7 separate regions of the Homo sapiens genome follow, and regions 2, 3, 4, 5, 6 and 7 are each linked to region 1. Evidence: promoter capture Hi-C in 16 types of primary human blood cells and fetal thymus (Javierre and others, 2016). All regions are on one chromosome and are shown on one strand. The core of a region is centred on a gene start or on the middle of the fragment in contact, and the rest is flanking DNA. Distances in the headings are between cores, read along the strand shown. Region 1 holds the start of SNRK (SNF related kinase). Region 2 holds the start of HIGD1A (HIG1 hypoxia inducible domain family member 1A). Region 3 has its middle 67 kb from the start of ABHD5. Region 4 has its middle 25 kb from the start of ANO10. Region 5 overlaps GASK1A (golgi associated kinase 1A). Region 6 overlaps GASK1A (golgi associated kinase 1A). Region 7 overlaps ANO10 (anoctamin 10).

Region 1 (2,828 bases), core at 135-2,634:
ATTTAAGCAGACGTTGAGGACAGATTTCCTTAAGGGAATTATTTTATAAATCTGGAAAGCAATGTAACGAGATTATAAATTAACAAACTGATTACATAAGCCTTGACAACCCGGGCTTTAAAGTACACTGCTGTATATATTCTGATAAGTTAAAGACTGGTTTGGGACATAGTGCTCCAATCCCATACAAGGAGCCCAAACTCAGGCATTTCATGTTTGATAGGAACTTGGTGGAGATTCAACAGGATGTCCAACACTTGCAAGCCATGCTTCACCTTAAAACCTGACAAAATGTTTAAGGCATTAAGTCAACTTTACCACGGTTCCTAAGACTTTAAGAATGCACATAATTAAAGGGAAGGGGGGTGGAAAGTAACATGACAGTTTGAAAGGTCCCATATCCTCAGACCTCTATAGATTTAGGAACTCCACTGCTAAATTCTCCCCAAAGCCTGAAACTCCCTATGAAACTACTGGACTGTATGCGATCCAACAGTTACAAATAGCACAGCTCCAAGAACCCCGAAGATAAAAGGCTGCCACTTTCCTGCAACCCAAGTCCAAGTAAAAGGCAGGAAGGTCCCTGTAAAATGGACCAGAAAGAAATCAACAGGCGATGACTATGGAAAAGAACGTAGATTTCCCAGTCTCCCAGTCTGCAAAAATTCTAGCTCTCCCTCGGGAATGGCACTGCTCCTCTTTCCTTACCCCTTTGCCCTTTCTCTACAGACAACATCCCCACTCTATTGTAAAGCAGTTTGACCACGGAACCCTTTTGCTGAGGCCGGATTTCTACAGTCTTCTGAAAGGGGAAAACGCATTCAAAGAACACACACCCTACCAAGCGCCCAGGGCGCGGGGCCCCGCGGGCGCCGCACTCGGCCCGCTCCGGGGCGGGGCGCGGGGATGCGGGCGCCTTCCGAGGTGCCGCAATCCCGCCGCGGCCGCAAGGGCAGGGCCTCCAGGCGACCGCGGCCGCCGCCGCAGTGACGGCTCCCGCCGGGCCCCGCCGCCGCCCCGCCGCCAGGCCGCGCCGCGGGGTCCGGGCCACCGCAGCCCGGGCCCCGCGTCCTCCCGGGCCGCGCGCTGCGGCCGGCGCCGAGAGCGCAACTTACTTTCCGCCTGCGGCGAGCGCCCCGGCCCGGGCGCCCAGCCCGGCAACAGCGGAGGCTACTGAGGCGGCGGAGGCCGGCCCCGCACCCCTGCCTACGGCCGCCGCGCCCCGCCGCGCTCCGCGCTCGCCCCTACCTCAGCCGGCAGGCGAGCGTCCGTCCGCAGCGGCCGCGGCGCCGACAACTCCCTCCCGGCCGCCGAAACCCCGCACCCAGCGCTAATCATAATACCGAGCGGGCTGCCGGCCGCGGGGAGGGGGTGCCGGGTAGCTGCGCCTGCGCGGGCTGCGCGTCACTGTGACGTCAGCGCTGGGGCGGGGCCGCGGGAAGGGCAGGGCGGGGCGGCGCGCACCTGCGGCCGGCGCGCGGGCTGCTGGAGGGCATCCTGGCGGCTTTCTGACCCCGGCGAGTCGGGGCTGAGGCGGCTGGCGGGACAAAGCGGGCAAGGCGCCCAAGGAGGATGGAGGACGGGGGAGGAGGAAGCACCAGGGACACGGAACAATGGCCGGGAAAAAGTAGCGCGAGCTGTCAGGGGAAATCGGAGGGAAGGGACCGCGTCTGTACAGGACTGCGTCTTGGCGGCAGGGGGCAGGGAGCCGCACGCGCTTTACTCTTTGGTTCCCGCCCAGGTTTAAACAAGGATAAAAAAATTGTAAAAATACATATACATACACACATGCACATATGTATATACATATATATACATAATATGATTTTTTTCTCTGTAGTTTCTTCTCCCTGGGACTCTAATTTGAAAAAATTCGGTTGATTTTGTTGTTATTTAAGCAAAATTGGAAAAGCCCAACATCTGAATGCAGTGCTGGCCTTAAAGGTCAGCGGGAGACACAGGCCCTGCTAGGCAGCCTCTGGCAACAGCATAGAAAAGTAAACGGTCGTGGGGACACATCAAAGCACGTGAAGTCAGAGATTCAAAACACGCCGGGCATTAACCATAGCCCTTGATGGTTCAGTGGTATGGTCGCCAGGCCAGGTTGCTCTGGAAGGGAGCTTAGGGATGGCCGCAGAGGGTGGGAGGGGACTCCCGACTCCCACCCCTGGAAGCATGGCATGCAATAGAGACCAGCTCTTCAGGGTTCCTGGAAGGGAACACCAACAAACCAGACGCCAGATTTCTTCAACCTGCTTTTCCCCTTCTGTTCCCACGTTGTGTCCACCCTTCCCCAAGAAAGGACCCCTAGCAAGGAAGGACACAAGCCAGAAGAGCTGCGGAGATGCTGCAGGCTTGGTTGAATTGACTGGACTGCGAAGAGAAATCTAGATGGTTTTAGCAAATCTCTGTTGACCTGCAAATGTCAAAAGCCTTTTAGCTTCTATGCATCAACTTTGCATGTCTGAAGATGATTGGGAAGCAGGAGTGGATTGTTGGGAGGTGCAAACAGTTTGATTCTTAGGGTAATAACATAGGGTTTTCTGATCAAGGGGACTCCCAGTTACCCTAATACCCTTGCATCAGGTGGTGGGAGAGCACCAGGGAAAGCCTCAGATTAGGCCTCTGCGCCTTAGGGTCCCACCTGGGATCACTCTGACCTGAAAAGACCATAAAAGAGTCATCTCATTTTGACATGGAAATCGTAACTGTAGCAGCATATTAAGCAAGAGCTCCTAACTTGGATTTGTAGAATTTGTCCTTTTGTTGCTAGAAATCAGGAAGACCATGCACTTTTCTCCTCAGGGAGATATCACTATTCAGGGAAC
Region 2 (2,828 bases), core at 120-2,619, 480 kb after region 1:
GCTCTGCACTGCCCCACCCGCCGCGCACACGCACGCGTCCTTTTGCGGCCGCTGGCCTCTGATTGGCTGGGACGGCTGTGGGTGGGGAGAAGCCGGGAGGACTGGGTGCGCCTGCAGGGATCGGAAGCCGGTTGGGGTGTGAGAGGTTTTCTCGCTCTAGGTAAGCGAAACAAGCCGGGGGACTGCGAGCCAGGGACTCGGGCCGCGGGGCGGGAAGAAGTGGGGCAGCGCTTGGCCAGGCCGAAAGGACTTTGGGGGTGGGGGCTGGGAGTCCGTGTCTCGAATGAGGGAGGAGAGGTGGAGTTGCCGGGGCTCAGGCCCGGCCTCGAGCATGGGCGGATGAGAGGAGTCGGGAGCCGAGGCCTAGGGTCCTTCGGGTGAGGGGAGACGGAGCCAGCGAGGAGATGGAGCAGAAGCTTGTGGAGTGAGTTGCCGAGCGGGGAAGACTCGCTGATGGGGTGGTAATGAGAGACGGGGGCCAGGAGGGTGTTGACTGGGCCCGACGGCGGGGAGCGAGGAGCGGGAGCTTCCCCGGAGCTTGGAACATTCTGAAGAGCGGGCTAAGCGGCAGGCGAGGCGGGATAGGAGAGCGAGCGCTCCGGTCACGGAGTCACGACAAGGTCACAGGAAGAGAGGCGGCGAGGAAGGTCGGGAGGTTGAGGGGAGGGCGTACTAGCAGAGGACCTTCCAGTCCTGGTCTTGCTTTTCTCCCCGACCTGGTGTTTCCTCCACCCTGGGAAAGTGATAAGGCCTAGGGTCCTGTGTAGTGCTTCTGTGACCGAATTAAATTTTTCTCCTGCCGAGTCGGCGGGTTAGAGATTACAAAGCACAGCGTAAGGGCAGAATTAGGAGCAGCCGACATGATGCAGCAGTGATATTCGCCTTTGTCTTAAATTCCCGGAGTGGGAAGCAGCTATTTCCCTCTTCGGAGTAATCCCCACGACAGGGATCCCTGCTTCCGGAAGTACAAAGGCACTTTGGAGTAAGACAGGTTTGGATGGAAAGTTCTAACAGGTTGAAGCGGTGACAACCTGGTCATGAAGCTCCAGCATGACACACATATTTGGAGTCCTGTATACTAGGAGTTCTCTTTGTGCACCAGAGTCACTTGAAGGGGCTTCTTAAAGATTCCTTGAGCTCTGCCCCAGACCACCTGAATCCGGATCTCCATGCTGGGGCCTTGGCAGCCATTTTAAACAAGCTGATGGGCGACTGATGCAAAATCAGTTTGAAGCCAGCGTTGCTTTAGATAGTAATTCCCGTGACAAAATGACTGTGAAGAAAGATCCTTCATTCAACCTGTTACGTCTCCTGATGCTGGACGGCTCATCTTCCCTTAATGCCTCTTTAGGTTCCCTGTGGAAAGGTCTTCAGTCGTGTCTTACTAAGCGTACAGAATTAATTTGTGCTCTCCAAACTGACTTTAAATATCTGGTTACTGGTGCCTTTTTTAGCGTCTATTCAACTTTCTGACAGAAATCTGGGACAACTACTGTGGGTGGATGAGAAAACGATAATGAAGGAAAGTCTGGCAGTGGTGTAGTGAAAAAAGTCTTTTCAAATCACAATTGAAATTGTTAGATGAGTTAAGTCACTGAAGAAGATTCCGTTTACCTTAGGCATGATTTTTTTATATATATCATTCAAAGAGAACAACGTGGGCTTCTGTTGAGTAATGGATTCTTAAATTTTCTAATCAGAATTCTTATCTGCCAATTTAATCTAATTTACATCAGCAGCGTAAGATTGATGCTTTGGCAATATATCGTCAATCAAAAGAACCCAGGACTCTCTATCAGAAGAGCTGGATTCTAATCCTACCCCACCAGACATGTATTCCTTGTACTGAGCAATTCGTATAACCCTCTCACAACCCTTTCCCCACCTGTAAAATAAGGCTATTGGCTTGGATTATTCATCTGATTTGTTACTCTCAAATTATATGATTAGAACTTATTGTTCCTGATACTTAACCAGTTTTCAATTCAGGTGGCTATAAACCATGAATACTTTGGAAACTTCTACGTGGTAATTAGACAGTTATCAAAATTTTGTATTCAGAGAGTATTTTAGATATGTACTATATGGGAATTATAATATTTTGACTACAGAATAACAAATAACTGATATGTGTTGGATTTTTAAATATTAATCCTTACTAATTTTATTCTGAAATGTACACATAAGGTATTCTGGAATCACAGACAGATTATCATCTGTCGTTTCAAGCAAATAATGACCATTTTGTTCCCCACACCCTGATGCTTACCGCAGGGGCTACTTTCTGAAACCCAGGTCAAATGCCCTATCCATACAAGCTTCAGAGTCTGTATCATAGATGAAGAACGGAGAAATAGGTTTTCTTCTGTTCTTGATTTATATACAGGAAAGAGACAACTAACCCCCTCCCTCCTGAAAGGAGAAAAAAAAAAAAACCTTTTGCTCCATTGACCTGTTGGAGAATTAGAGTCAGCCAGATGTGAGATAATTATAAGAAAAACTACCAACTTTCTTGCTATTTTTAAAAAACGATTTATGTCCTGTTTTTGTTTGTTTGTTGGGTCCCTCAGCAAGGGTCTTGCCTGTTGCCCCGGCTGGAGTGCAGTGGCTGGATCATGGCTCACCGCAACCTCCACTTTCCAGGCTCAAGCAGCCCTCCTGCCTCAGCCTCCTGAGGAGCTGGGACTACAGGTGTGCACCACCATGCCCGGCTACCAACTTTCTTGCTTTTAAAGACAATTCCCAAATGATTTTTTAGTTTAGAAATGATTCAGGCAAAAAAGGGGAAAACATGCTTTTATATCTGCAGAAGTTTTTAGTTTTTAAAA
Region 3 (2,828 bases), core at 203-2,702, 470 kb before region 1:
CTGCCAGGCTCACACATCCTTCTTCTCATAGCACATTTTTAAAGGATCCTGCATTTACCAAGATCTAAAAGTGCAAACATGCACTTACCCGTGAGAGACACCCACAGTCACAGCTGTGTGACTACACCCAGAGATGACCTTGTTAACCATTTTTCTCAGAGTCCACAATCTCCAGTGGAATCTGTTTCTCCCTGGTTCTGTAACAGTCAAGCCTTGTGTTTCCTCCTCATAATTTTGCAACCTGATTGTAACAACAGTCCTCACTAACACATCCTAAATACAATAATGCAATTCAAGCAAGGCAAGTTCAAAAACACTTTCCATTTGGAAGGGGGTGAGGTTGATAAATCTCCAGAACAGCCCCTTAATCCAGAGCAAACTTCATCCAAGGTTACATGGCAGCATGGGCCCCCTTCCACAGCTGCTACTGAAGGGGAGGATTCTTGTGGATAATCAGGAACATGGTGGGACCAGAGAATTCCACAAGCATCACTGTTGACTTGTCTCTCTGGCACAGGGGGAGTTCTTTGGTCAGCAAACCTGGCTTCCAGATAGGTAGGGCCCATATCTTAGTTCTTCTTTTTTCTTTTTTTTTTTAATTTTGTCTTGGTGCTTTATACACTGTTTCTTATAGTGTTTACTAAGACACAGTCTCTGCCCACAATGAACTTTGGTACATTGTGAAAATATCATGTGCAGAAGATGGAAAAAGTGCAGAGTCTCTGCACTTGGTGTTCAGAATGCAGAAAAGAAAGGAGAATGGCTGAGGTATGAGCTGGTTGCTGCTGGTTGGTGAACAGATGCCATTAACTGGCAAGGAAGAGGCTGGTGTGGACTGCAGAGCTGGTGACACCTTAAGCTTTTTTGCACTTCCAGGGGGCCAAGCAAGGCAGAAGCAGTCATTGTTCTTTTCCCTGTACCTGTCTCCTTCAGGACAGGCACATTTGGCTGAGCACAAATAAGAATCATTTGCAGAAGAGCTCTAAGAGAGGAAGGAGTCCAAAAACCTTTGACCTAGGATTATGACTCTCACTGAAAGTTGTAAGAACTGACCTTTGACCTAGGATTATGACTCTCATGTAAGATGTAAGAACTGAGAGTCATTGCAAAAAGGCTGCAAGATCTCAGATCTGCAGGACTGTGGGCTGTCTCCTCTAAATGCAAAGAACTGGGGCCTAGGTCTCACGAGATAAACATCAGTGATGAGGGCAGTGGGCTGGTGGCGAAAGAGGCAGAGAAAACAGCAGCTCTGGTAACTGCTATTTTAAACACTTTTATTAAAGCAACAAAAGAAGAAGAAGAGGAGGAAGAGGAAGAGGAAGAAGGAGAAGAAGAAGGAAAGAAAGAGTGAGCTCACATAGAAAGCTTAACCTCTATTAAATCTTAGAGGCAGATTAGAAATAATTATAAAATTCGATACGCACAAATGGGAATGCATAGGTTTAAGGAGTGAGTGGATTAATTGCACATGACTCCAAACGTGGGCTAAGGAGGTAGACAAGATGCCTCTTCCTGAGTGTGTGACTTTAAGGAAGCTTCTTAAGACCTCCAACTTCAGTATCCCTGAGGGGAAATCTTTAAATGGAGATAGTGGCACCTACCTCCCAGGGTACTGTGAACATTAAGTAACTATTGCCTAGCAAGCCTTTGGTAGAATGTGTGGCACGTAGTACATGCTCAGTAAAAAGTGATTGACGTTGCTGTTCCATGAACTAGACAGGCTTTAAAGTCAAGTTCCAAAAATATCTGAGTGGTATCCACATCTTCAAAATGAGCAGCCAGCCTCTCAGCATGGAACCCTTTGAAGGAGCCACACTGGCAGGTAGGAACAGCCATGCTGAAGGGCTCAGGGAGCAGGAACCGGGCCACCTGCACAGGGAGGGTTTCCTTCCACTTCAGAGCAGGTAAATGGTTTCACTTCCCATCCAGCTCAGGTAGATTGATGATGGCTACCAGGATTTCAGCCCCAACAAGGATGACAAGGCAAGGGTCCTTCAGGATGGAGTAGCCATGCCTTTCATGGGGACAGGAGAAAGGTGGGTTGACTTAATAGGCTACAGATCCAGAAGTTAAATTTGTGCCATTGTTCGGCATAATCATAGTATTATTTAGTGAGAGTTCACCATGTCTGAGCAGTAATTGTCAGGGTGCTTTACATTTATGTATCATCTTATTTGATCTTACATCAATCCTGTGAAGAGGGTACATTATAATCCCCGTTTTTCACATGGGTCTTACGGACTAAGTCAACTGCTTGAGGTCACTTGTAGCAGATTCAGCCACTGCCCAAGTGTTGTGAACAACAACTCCCATGTGCCTGGCTTCTGTCACTTTTGAGAACAGCTGCCTCTGACTACCAGGGTCTACTTTGCCTACCCACAAGAGTCTGGGGTCCTTGGGAATTTAGGTGTGCCAGGTAAGCCCTGAACCTTAGACTGTTGGGTGCAGGGCTATAAATGTTTCTAGCTCCCTTGCCTTTGACAGGCACACTCAGGTGTGGTCTCCACTGACCCCAGAGCTCCACCAGAATTGAGCCAAGTGGGAGCCTTTCCTCCTCCTTCTATGGGACTGTGTTCGATGCTGCCCCTTTGCACCCTGCCTGGCCTCCTTCCCTTCCTGGCCCCACTCTCCTGTCCCCCTATTGTATTTTCCTAGGAGTATTCTGCAATGAAACACTTTCGTGCAAAGGTTTATCTAGTGGTCTGCTTCTGGGAAAACAGACCTGCGAGGTCACTTGGTTGTAAGTGCCAGAGCCTGAGTTCAACTCAGGTTCACGGTGTAAACTGCCTCAAAGAGAACCACCCCACCAGAACCAGTAATAATAAATG
Region 4 (2,828 bases), core at 185-2,684, 360 kb before region 1:
TATCCTGGCTAACACGATGAAACCCCGTCTCTACTAAAAATACAAAAAAATTAGCCGGACGTGGTGGTGGGCGCCTATAGTTCCAGCTACTCGGGAGGCTGAGGCAGAAGAATGGCGTGAACCCGGGAAGCGGAGCTTGCAGTGAGGCAAGATCACGCCACTGCACTCCAGCCTGGGCGACAGAGCCAGACTCCATCTTAAAAAAAAAAAAAAAAAAAAAGCGGGCTAAAACCCACCAAAACCAAGAAGGCCACGAGAGTGACCTCCGATCGATCACCCTCACCGCTACACTCCCACCAGCACCATGACAGTTTACAAGTGCCATGGCAATGTCAAGAAATTACCCTGTATGGTCTAAAAAGGGGAGGCATGAATAATCTCCTTGTTTAGCATATAATCAATGAATAACCATAAAAATGGGCAAGCAGCAGCCCTTGGGGCTACTCTGTCTATAGAGTAGCCATTATTTTATTCCTCTACTTTCTTAATAGACTTGCTTTCACTTTACTCTATGGACTCGCCCTGAACTCTTTCTTGGCAAGATCCAAGAACCCTCTCTTGGGGTTTGGATCCAGACCTCTTTCCTGTAACAGGGCCACTTTCTCCCTGCCCATTGGCAGAAGATGAAATTTTCCACCTCCAAATGTTTGTCTTCCCTGGATTTAAGCTAGTCTGACCTGCCTCAAGGTTAGAAATTCAGGTTGAAAAGTTAATGAATGCATTTTTATTTTGTATTTATGTGAATAAAGTATAAAACTTTATACGTGAGGAGCCCAGAGGAGGGTGAGATTCTGGAAACTTGGATAGGTAAGAGAAGGTCTCCTGGGCTTCAGCCTGGCTGTAACAAGTAACCTAGATGGAGGTTGGTTCCCTTGAGAGAGGTGAAGAAAGAATGTAACAATGAGTTGGGCACGACAGCCAAAGTAGAGAGATGAGGGCCTTTAATGGTAATAGTAGTAGTTGAGGCCACAGCTATGCTAATCACTGTTCATGTATTTAAACTTGTTTAATCCCTACATAAACCTATGAATTCTGAGCTATTGTTACCCCTTTACAAATGAAGTAACTGAAACCCAGAAAGGTTTAGTCTATCTATGTCACACTACTGTTAAGTGATTGCATCAGAATCCTAAACTCTGCAATCTGTCTCCTTCCAGAGCCCATGGGGATATGGCTGAAAAGTAATTAGAATTAGACAGTAAAAGGATTTGAATACTTCGAATACAGAGTAGTGTAATATGATGGTTAATTTTATGTCTTAACTTCACTGGGTTAAAGGATATCCAGAAAGCTGGTTAAACATTATTTCTGGGTGTGCCTGAGAGGATGTTTCCAGAAGAGATTAACATTTGAATCAGTAGTCTGAGTAGAGAGGAATTTGCTCTCACCAAGGTGTGTGGGCATCACCCAAGCCGTTGAGGGCCTAGAGAGAATAAAACTGTGGGAGGAGGGTGAATTCACTCTCTCTTCTGGAGCTGAGACAGCCATCTTCTGCCCTCGGACATCTAAGCCCCAGGTTCTCAAGCCTTCAGACTCTGGGGCTTATACCAGCGCTCCCCCAACTCCCCAACACACACCACTGGCTTTCCTAATTCTCCAACTTGCAGACAGCAGATCATGAGATTTCTCACCCTCCATAATCATGTGAATCAATTCCCATAATAAATCTCTTATCTATCTATTTATCTATGGGTATAGAATACACACACACACACACACACACACACACACACACACACATATATACACATATCTTTTTGGTTCTGGTTCTTTGAAGAATCCACACTAATACATCCAGTCTTCTGGACTGGACCCATAAATCAAAGGAATCATACTCCAATGGCAGACTTCCAGACCTTAACAGTTGGAAGGTCGAAGAGAATTTTCTTCTTTGGGAAGGGAGGGTGCTTTTCTTTCCCGCTTTTCACAACAAGCCAGTCTTTACCTTCCAGATGTTGTACCCCCACCTTCAGGGATGACTCCATAATACTTGAAAGGGACAGTTTGTGTGACCAGCACAAATTTCTCATTTTAGAACCGAACTAGAAGTAAACAGTCATATGAGTCTATGTAAAGAAAGAAGAGGCCAGGTGTGGTGGCTCACACCTGTAATCCCAGCATTTTGGGAGGCTGAGGCAGGCAGATCACCTGAGGTCAGGAGTTCAAGACCAGCTTGGCCAACATGGTGAAACCTTGTCTCTACTAAAATACAAAAATTAACTGGGCGTGGTGTGGTGGCAGGCACGTGTAATCCCAGCCACTCAGGAGGCTGAGGTGGAAGTTGCAGTGAGTCAGGATTGCACCACTGCACTCCAGCCTGGGCATCAGAGCAAGACTCCGTCTCAAAAACAAACAAACAAAAAGTAGAGACTACTGACTCAGCATGACCATAACCATGGCTCTGTCTTCTAAGGCTCCTTCCACCATAAATTTGTTATCTTAGTTCTCTAACTCAAAGACGAATTCACAATCTCAGCCACACATGCTGTTACAATGAGCATATACAAGGATCAGGACAGGTAGCAGGCAGAAGTGTGCCCTTGGTCTACTCTCCCTCCTCCTCATCATCCCTGCTCAAAATAGGGAAGTGGAAAGAGTCCCCTCTTAGAAGCATGGGAATTAGAACTCCTCGAATCTTTTGTTTTCACATTGTATCAGAGTAAAACAACTAAAATTTACATACTAAAACAAGCTAATCTATAACTTTGAACATGACTCTGCAGAAAAATAAGAAACTTCCCACAGACGTTTTCCACTAGTCAACTAAGCTACTTAAAACAGGTAGAGGCCAGGCGCAGTGGCTCATGCCTGTAATCCCAACACTTTGG
Region 5 (2,828 bases), core at 214-2,713, 280 kb after region 1:
TGGGGATGCTCATGAGGCATTTCCTGACAACCGTGGGCATAGAGCTCCTTCCAGCCAGGTGACCTCCGGCTTCAGAGGACTAGGAAGGAGGCAGGCAGCCACGTCTGGGGGTGCACGTGGCACCATGGAGGCGTGGAGGTCCTCCCTCGAGAGACTCCAGAACACCAACTGTAGCCAGCATTGTTGAGCATCTCCCATGCCAGACCCTGTGCCAGGTACCTGATAAGACAGTTCCTCTACTTCCTGCAACCTCCCTGGAAGGGAGGTATCATTCCTCACATTGGGAAGCTGAGGAAACTGAGGCATAGACAGCTTATGTCAGTTTCTTACAGCCTCATAGCTAAGTGGCAGAGTTAGACTCAAACCCAGGTCTAGCTAACTCCATCAGTTTATTAGCCGGAGTTTTGACCCTGCTATTATAGAAGCCTAAAAGAATAAGAGTTGTTTCTCCACCTGCCTTTCTTCTCCAAGCAAGCAAGCAAGCAAGCAAACCCGGAGAGCTGGAAGCCATCCTCTTCCTGCCCCAGGATAGAATAAAAAGGCCTTTGCTTTAAAAGCCAACCAAGGCTCCTAAAGGTAAATTGAGCTGGGCTGTCTGACTGATATCAGGTCACCTAGGTGAGGACAGGCTTGGAGCCAGACAATTTGATTTAGAAAAGTAATGCTGTTGTTCAGCTAAAAATGGTAGACTAAGCACCTGCTATTCTCTTTCTTTCCTCCTGAAATATGAAAATAACAGTAAAGTGTTCTTATTTTTAAAGAACAAACCTCTAAGGATAAAGAGAACAGGAAAGCAGTCAACCATAAAAGCAAAATTCAGGAAGCTGGAAAGCAGGTGAATGAGTAGCAATGGCCTGAGCAGACTCATGAAAGCTGAATCCTAAACTAGAAGGCAGGTCAAAACTCAACATGATTTACACCAAGGGAGCCCCCAACAGGTAAAGGACTGGTGCTGATAGGATAAAAAACAAAAGGATTGGCTGAAAGTCGACTTAAGAAGAAGCTAGACACCCAGATCTCCATACTGTGAAGTCAGGCAGCTGCCCCTCCTGCACCCAGCAGAAGACTGAAAGTTTGTTCTATGGAGAGAGAAAGCTAGGGAAGCTACATGCTGGGAGACACCTGGGACAGTTGAGGGCAGTGGGGACTATACTGAAAACAGGAGTTTTAAGAGAACATTTACATGCTGAACATTGAAATATTGCAAGGGCCCCCCAAGTATCCAACACAATGGCTAAAAAGTGAGACCTTAGTGGTATGGAATTCAGATATTTGCAATTGCCCCACACACTTGTATTTTGATGAGATCACCCACTAGCAACAGTATGTCCTGTTTCCATGGTCATGGAGACAGTTTGTTGCTGCAGCCATTAAAAGCAAAAGCTTCAATAGCAATGGCTGCTTGGGGCCACCTATCCTGAGCTTCACCACTTGGCAGTGCTGTGCCTCTCACCTGCTCTCCTATGACTATCAGGTGTGTGATACTGAGGGGTACACAACCCGGAAGTATAGGGAAACTTATGTCGAGTGGAGCAAAGCTTTGATCATTGGGAGACTGAAGACAGTGGGTAAATTCAAGTGGTCCTGAATTCAATTTATGCAGCTTCTTGGATAGGTCCATAGGATCACACAATCAATTGCCTGTAGCAGCAGCCAGCTTGATAATACATCGCCATATCATCTCTCCTGTTTCCCTGCTTCTCTTTGGGTGTTTCCTGAGATTGTACTCCCAAATAACAGCACATAAGCCTCCAGCCTCGGGCTCTGTTATTAGAAAACCAGGTTAAGACAAACCAAGGCACATCATTGTAAAGCTTCAGAACACTGGGGAAAATATCCTCCAAGTTTCCAGAGAGAAAGGGAGAAAAAAATAAAACAAGTTTTATACCAAGTAATCAAGAATCAGAATGGCTGTGGACTTCTTTACTACAATACCCGAGGCTAGAGCACCATTGAGCAAAGCCTTCAAAATCTGACAGAAAATTATTTCTTTTAATTCTATACTCAAGCCAAACTATCAATCAAATATGAGGGTAGAATGAAGGCAATTTCAGGCATATAACATTTCAACATGGTTTACCCCTCCTGTAGTCACTTTTAACAAGCTATTGGTTAAATTACTCCACTAAAACCAGGAGGTAAGCCAAGAAAGAGGAAGACATGGGATGCAGGAAACAAAGATGCAAAACAAGAGAGGCAAAGAGACTCGTGGGATGCTGGGAAAGGAGGATCCTAAGCCAACGGCTGTGCACCGACCAAGAAAGCGACCAGCTCAGAAGGAGCAGGTCAAAAGGCTCTGGGCAGGGGGTTTCCAAAGAAAGAAATTGATGTGTGCTTGAGTCTATTAAGAGGAAGTTGGCTTGTGATAAGTACATGAAAAAAACTAAGGAAACAAAAAAGATGATTACTAACTAGAGAGAAACAGAAAGGTGCCCAGGAAAGGAAAGGTGATCATAATATAATACAGCAGTCCCTACCCCTTATCCTTGGAAGATACGTTCCAAGCCCCCCAGCGGATGCCTGAAACCTTGGACAGTACCAAATCCCATTGCCATAAATCAGAACACATTTCTAGAAGTTCATGTCTTCCACCCACAAATTGAATGCCTTTTCCATCTTAATGAAGCACTTATCACACACTTTGGCTGTAACTTTTGCCACAGTTTGAGGTGCAGCAGCAAAACTAGCATGAATTTCTCTTTCTTCAGAAGACAATTTCACAGATAGCAGATTCATTCTTACTGCAGATCTTAGCAACCCCAGCCTACGATTTTTTTTTCTTAAGTAGAGAAACTTTCATCTTCTCACTTAAATGAAGCACTTTCAGC
Region 6 (2,828 bases), core at 241-2,740, 260 kb after region 1:
TTCATGTTCTCCCATGGGGTGGGGGGTTAGGAGATGACTCTGTGTGCTCTGCACTTGCCACCCCCACCCACACACACATACACTTCCACCAAGAGAGCTCTGTGTTCTTTCATTAGGTGGGTTTAGCTAATTTACATTACTTGATATGCCATACATATTTAGTCTTAGTTCTGTTGTAATATTTTATGGTATATTTTCTGTATTGTAAATTCAAAATAAAATTCTAAGCCCCCTGACCATCTGAATGGACCCCTCCTTTTGGCCAAGGGCCTTCCAAAGTTAACCTGAAAAACTGGTTCAGGCCATGATGGGAAGAGGAAGCCAGACATGCCTCATTATACCGTCCTCCCTTTTGAAATTTAGGCCCAGCTGACCAGCATTGACATCAACACAGACCTTAAGACTGTTAGAACAGCCTCTTTATGTCTGATAAGAAACATTTACAGTCTATTTCCTCAAGCCAGCTACCTAGAGGCTCCAACTGCATGATAAAGCCTTGGTCTCCACAAGCCCTTATCTTAACCCAGACATTCCTTTCTATTGATTCTAAGTCTTTAGACAATAACTTAACTCTTTCAATCAATTACCAATCAGAGAATCTTTGAATCTACCTATGACCCAGGAACCCCTGCTTCCAGTTGTCCTTCCTTTCTGGACCAAAGCAATGTACCTCTTAAATGTATTGATTGATGTCTTATGTCTCCTTAAAATGTATAAAACCAAGTTGTAGTCTGATCACCTGTTCTCAGGATCTCCTGAGGGCTGTGTCACAGGCCATTGGTCACTCATATTTGGCTCAGAATAAATCTCTTCAAATATTTTACAGTTTGACCTTTTCATCAACAATATTTATAATATTTGAAGTCTTGTACTATGTTTTCTTTTCTCTTACTTTTACTTTGTCTTTTGGTGTATATTTCTTATAATATTTAGGAAATTTTGATTTGGGTCCTAATTATTACCTTTATTATTGTATGCCCTTAATTGTCTGGTTCTTTAGACTGTAGCTCTTAATCCCCTAAAAAGAACAATATTAAAATTATTTCCTCTTCCCCCTCCTTGCCCTCCCTTTCCTCTACCATTCAATTTTCATAACTAGTATTATCTTTTTAAATGTTTATCTTTGTACAATTAAATGTGTTTACATTTCTATATATTTCTCAGCTTTAAATGATATTCTTTAGTTCTCTGCTATTATTAATGAAATAAACAGCATATTAATTCTTTCTCCCACCTTTTGCCTTCATCCCCCATCCAATTGTTTATATTTGTGTCATACGCATTGGTACAATAGGAAGCGTATACATTCGATTCCATCTCTCTAATACCCACATTTGTTCAGGTCTTAGTTATTCAGTTAATATATTGTATGCACACTCTTGTCCCTTTGGACCCAGTTTCCCATTATTTCTTGGTTGACTGAAATTCACATGGGAACAATATTCTCTGATTTCTTGCATGTTCCAACTGTTTTCTACAGCATTCATACATGAAGTAAAGTTGCCTACATAGAAAATACTTGGCTTACAGTTTCTTTCTTTGAATAGCTTATGGGTTCTGCTCCACTGTTTTGTAAGGTTAAGGGAAATCTAAGATTGAACTGATTTTTTACCCTGCCTGGCTGCCCTAAGAATTCTTTCTTTTTCTTTAACATCCAGTAACATTCCTAAGATCTATCAGTGTTGACTGTTTCGGGTCAGCTTTTCTTGGCGTGCAATATGCCCTATTAGAAAAGGTAAACACAAGTCTTTTTATTTCATGAGAATTTTCTTGAGCTAAATATTAAATATTTCTTCCATTCCATGACTTTATTTTACTTTTTTCTTTAGGCTCTTCAATTATGTACACGGTGGCTCTCCTTTATCTTCCTTATATGTTTCTTACCTTCTCTTTAATCCTTTCTAACTATTTTCATTTCATTTTGTTCACTGTTCTTGTTTTTATACTCTATTTGACTTACTGTGTTTTACCTAATATTTATTCACCCTTTCTGTTATTTTCCACTTTTCCCTACTTCTTTCCAGCTCATATTTCACATCTTTCCATTTTACCATTTTTTCTTGAGTTCTTGCATTTCTGCTTTGTGGTATTTATTCACAGAGGGTACTTTAAGTTTTAAAAATTCATTGTGATAAGATTGCTCAAAATTCCACTGTCTCCAGGTAATATTTTCAGGTGGCCAGCCCTCATCTGTTAAGAAACATTGCTGTTCTTTGTCTCCTTTTTTCTCACAGTATCTCTGCATAGATGCTGGACTGTTTTTATTGTATGAGTTGGACCAGTCAATTGAAAGAGGTTCCTGTAGAACCCCGGTGGAATTTGAAATCAACCGGTTTTCATGATGCAGATGCTTTCTTCTTCTCATCTACCCCATGACCAGGCTGCATCCTGCAAATATGGCTTGTTGGCATGGCTCTTTATGTATCACAGTGTCCTCTGCTTTTCTAATCCCAATAGTCCAGCTGGATCCTCTGAGCCACTAAACTTGCCCCCATCCCATTTCCACACCCTCTTTTGCAGACAAGCGGGGGATGGTGATTCTGCTCCTCAGGTGTGTCACTCACCTTCCGGCATATTTCATTGGTGCTTTCTGAGATCTGCCAACTTGGGCTCCCTCTTCCACTCTTTCTCACTTCCTCCAACACTGCACCTGCATGAAACTGGCTGCTTCTTACGCTGTTCCCAAGTATTTTGGTGACTGCCTCCTAATTTATCTGAAAAAGGAATTTGCATTTTGTCTTCCATCTTCTTTGTTACTTTCTGCTAGTTCCAGGGTAAGGTGAGGATGCAGAGTTTATGCTGCCGTGTTTACACCAGCAGTCCTCAAT
Region 7 (2,828 bases), core at 103-2,602, 260 kb before region 1:
AGGCAAAAATGATCACTGCTGTATTATGAGAACTGTGTCATTTGTCACAACTTTTGTGTATTTACTGCCATCTAGTGTTGCCTTTAAAAATTGATGACACTTGAACACTACTTTCATTTGCAAAATAAAGAAATTTTTGTAGACTGAACCAGAGAATAGCCTACCAATGTAATAGATGAAAACATGTGAAAATGCCATTTTTTGTGGGTTAAAAATAAATACTGGCGGTGTCATAAAGTTCAGCTCTCAAGATTAAATCAATATTCAAATAATTTCCCTTAAGTAATTATCATCCTTCTTTTTGAGGCAAACTTAGTTTGCTTTTTTGATGTAATTTTTAGCAAAAGATTACTACTTTACCTGCAGAATTATGTATGTCTCCAATTTCTAAAAAATAGAAATGGCCTGATATCTTCCAAATATTAAATCTTAGATAATACTTCATTTTAGTAATGACAGTTTTAATTCTAAATTAATTGACAGTTTTAATTCTAAACTTGGCAAGATGTACCTATCAGACATGTTGAATTACTGACAATTTACCTACTAAATTTGGTTCTTTTTCTAAGGTGAAGACGAGTTAACTACTCATCCCAGAAATTACACTGCATTTCTAATGTTTAGGGCCTGGTGACCACCAAGCCTGCCTGTACCATGCATGTTTAATTCGTGGTTTAAAAAATATCATTTAATTACAGTTTCTTTTAAAAAATAAGTTTTCATGTGGCACCCCCTCTCCATCTGCCAGCAGCTGCTTAGAAGCAGAATTGAGGCCGGGCGCAGTAGCTCACGCCTGTAATCCTAGCACTTTGGGAGGCCGAAGCGGGCAGATCACAGGTCAGGAGATCAAGACCATCCTGGCTAACACGGTGAAACCCCGTCTCTACTAAAAATACAAAAAAATTAGCGGGCGCTGTGGCGGGCGCCTGTAGTCCCAGCTACTGGGAGGCTGAAGCAGGAGAATGTCGTGAATTCGGGAGGCAGAGCTTGCAGTGAGCTGAGATCCGGCCACTGCACTCCAGCCTGGGTGACAGAGCGAGACTCCGTCTCAAAAAAATAAAAAAGAAAAGAAAAGAAGCAGAATTGAGTCTTATCTGTAATACCAGAAGTATCCTCTGAGAATGAACTGAGCCTTTCCAGGTTCTTTTGTGCCCTGACTCACAGGCTTTATTTTCCTAGTTTCAGATTTGAAAGTTGCAAGCATTATACAGATAATTCCTATATATTCTTTATCAGGATTCACTGATTTTGAACATTTTGTCACACATGTGTTCTTCCTCTCTCTCAACTAAGAGAGAGGGAGGGAAGGAGAGAGAGAAACAGAGGGAGAGAAGAGAGAGAGATTTATAGATATTTGAAACTATACAAATGTGGATTCTATCCCTATACTGCCTCTTAGGGTATCACCTTGTCTTGTGAGCCCATTCCCTTGACTTCAGAGTGAGGCCAGTGCAGCCTCCCTTGCATGAGTGTTCTAAAGAGTAGAAATAACACATGTATAACTCTGATTATGTGTCTGGTATTGAGCAGGTGCTTACTAATTTGCAGGTCTTGTTACCACTCTCACAAGGCGAGGCATAGATGAGGTTGTATATGTGAAATGCCAAACACAGGGCTGAGTACTTGGTCAAGGCACAGGGGATGTGAGCTGCAGTTCTAACCAGCTTAGTATCAGAATGAAACTTTCGTTATCTTTATTATCATTTTCATGATTATTTGGTTAAGCAGGTAGTGTCACAGCATAGAGGTAGCTTGGGGTGTCAAAGTCTGGTGGTAACTGAATTAGAATCCCAGCATTTCCTTTTAATCTTTGAGTCTCAGTTTCCTTGGATATAAAATGGAGACATTGGTAGTGTACACAAGAAGTGTCAGGCACCATGTTTGATGCAGAGGAGGAAGTGGAAAATTGATAACAGTTTATAGCACCACTGTTGTTAATGAGTTCCTCTTTCAGCAATTAGTTCATATGACTCTGTCAGCTCTAGATTTGTTGTCATGGGCCAGGCTCTCCATCATAGCATTGCATTGGTTCCGTCTGTGTTACAGTTTGCTGCTTACATGTTTATCTCCCTCTCTTACGTACCTTCTATCTGTGGCATGGCTGTTTTCTTCTCTCTGCTGATCTTACTTCCACGCCTCAGCCTAGCCCTCCCTCCCTCTCATTCATCCCTCATCAAGACTTGCTGATTCTGACTTCTGAATATTTGTTTCGGCTCTCTCCCTTGTCACTGAGTTCATGTTCTTACCATTTCTCATCTAGACATACTTTTTAAAACAGCTGTGGTGAGCATAACTCACACACCATACAATTCCCTTATTTAAAGCATACAGTTCAGGAGCTCTCACCTAAACTTTTACAGCAGATCTTTTTTACAGAAGGAAAGCCTTCTGGCTTTCCTGCTTTTCCTCCTTTGGCCCATGCTCTCTACTGCTGGAGTGGTTATTCCTAAATGAAACTCTGATCATATTTCTCTTCCGCTGTGGCCCTCACATGGGTGTCCATGGCTTACAGAAGAAATGCGTTAGTCGAATGCCAGATGTTTGTTAGTCTCCTTCCCCTTCACTTCCCCTGGCTTCCATTCCATCCTTGGATAACCTAGGACCCTTTGTGAAAGTCACTGTTATCATTTACTAAAACTGTATGACAATCACGTGGCTCCATTACCAGATCGAGCTTCCTGAGAGCATGAGCAAGGACAGCATATGATGAAGCCTCAGTAACTGAGAAGCTTCATAAAGTAACTCAGTAGAGTTACTTTAACTCTTTGTTTTCAAGTGATTAAGTAACTGCTTGTTAAACGTTTATTAATTAATGAATGAGTCATATA

Evidence for each region. Contacts are between HindIII fragments. The CHiCAGO score rates a contact against its expected background, and 5 or more counts as called.
Region 2: a fragment that was not itself captured here is called in contact with the fragment with the promoter of SNRK in region 1 in 1 of 17 cell types (neutrophils); the score reaches 5.0 in neutrophils.
Region 3: a fragment that was not itself captured here is called in contact with the fragment with the promoter of SNRK in region 1 in 2 of 17 cell types (total CD4 T cells and naive CD8 T cells); the score reaches 5.6 in total CD4 T cells.
Region 4: a contact is called between a fragment that was not itself captured here and the fragment with the promoter of SNRK in region 1, in 1 of 17 cell types (neutrophils). The highest score is 5.3, in neutrophils.
Region 5: a contact is called between a fragment that was not itself captured here and the fragment with the promoter of SNRK in region 1, in 3 of 17 cell types (total CD4 T cells, naive CD8 T cells and non-activated CD4 T cells). The highest score is 6.7, in total CD4 T cells.
Region 6: a contact is called between a fragment that was not itself captured here and the fragment with the promoter of SNRK in region 1, in 1 of 17 cell types (naive CD8 T cells). The highest score is 5.5, in naive CD8 T cells.
Region 7: a contact is called between a fragment that was not itself captured here and the fragment with the promoter of SNRK in region 1, in 2 of 17 cell types (megakaryocytes and neutrophils). The highest score is 7.4, in megakaryocytes.

The regions. Positions count from the first base shown.
Region 1 is chr3:43,285,096-43,287,923 of GRCh38, reverse strand. SNRK (SNF related kinase) reads right to left here and starts at 1,384. Exons shown (of 7, transcript NM_017719.5): 1 at 1,249-1,384. RefSeq lists silencers at 850-899, 1,140-1,539 and an enhancer at 1,144-1,644. The HindIII fragment of the contact is 7,817 bases long and covers 1-2,828 here.
Region 2 is chr3:42,801,768-42,804,595 of GRCh38, reverse strand. HIGD1A (HIG1 hypoxia inducible domain family member 1A) reads left to right here and starts at 106. Exons shown (of 4, transcript NM_014056.4): 1 at 106-160. RefSeq lists a silencer at 1-150. The HindIII fragment of the contact is 1,902 bases long and covers 419-2,320 here.
Region 3 is chr3:43,756,081-43,758,908 of GRCh38, reverse strand. No RefSeq gene overlaps it. Among named protein-coding and RNA genes, the nearest start is that of ABHD5, 67 kb to the right of the region's middle. The HindIII fragment of the contact is 170 bases long and covers 1,368-1,537 here.
Region 4 is chr3:43,646,066-43,648,893 of GRCh38, reverse strand. It overlaps a transcript of ANO10 not described here. Among named protein-coding and RNA genes, the nearest start is that of ANO10, 25 kb to the right of the region's middle. The HindIII fragment of the contact is 7,613 bases long and covers 1-2,828 here.
Region 5 is chr3:43,005,642-43,008,469 of GRCh38, reverse strand. The region is part of intron 1 of GASK1A (golgi associated kinase 1A); the gene reads right to left. Among named protein-coding and RNA genes, the nearest start is that of GASK1A, 28 kb to the right of the region's middle. The HindIII fragment of the contact is 155 bases long and covers 1,386-1,540 here.
Region 6 is chr3:43,025,805-43,028,632 of GRCh38, reverse strand. All of the region lies in intron 1 of GASK1A (golgi associated kinase 1A), which reads right to left. Among named protein-coding and RNA genes, the nearest start is that of GASK1A, 48 kb to the right of the region's middle. The HindIII fragment of the contact is 8,406 bases long and covers 1-2,828 here.
Region 7 is chr3:43,541,630-43,544,457 of GRCh38, reverse strand. The region is part of intron 11 of ANO10 (anoctamin 10); the gene reads left to right. Among named protein-coding and RNA genes, the nearest start is that of ANO10, 79 kb to the left of the region's middle. The HindIII fragment of the contact is 2,758 bases long and covers 1-2,731 here.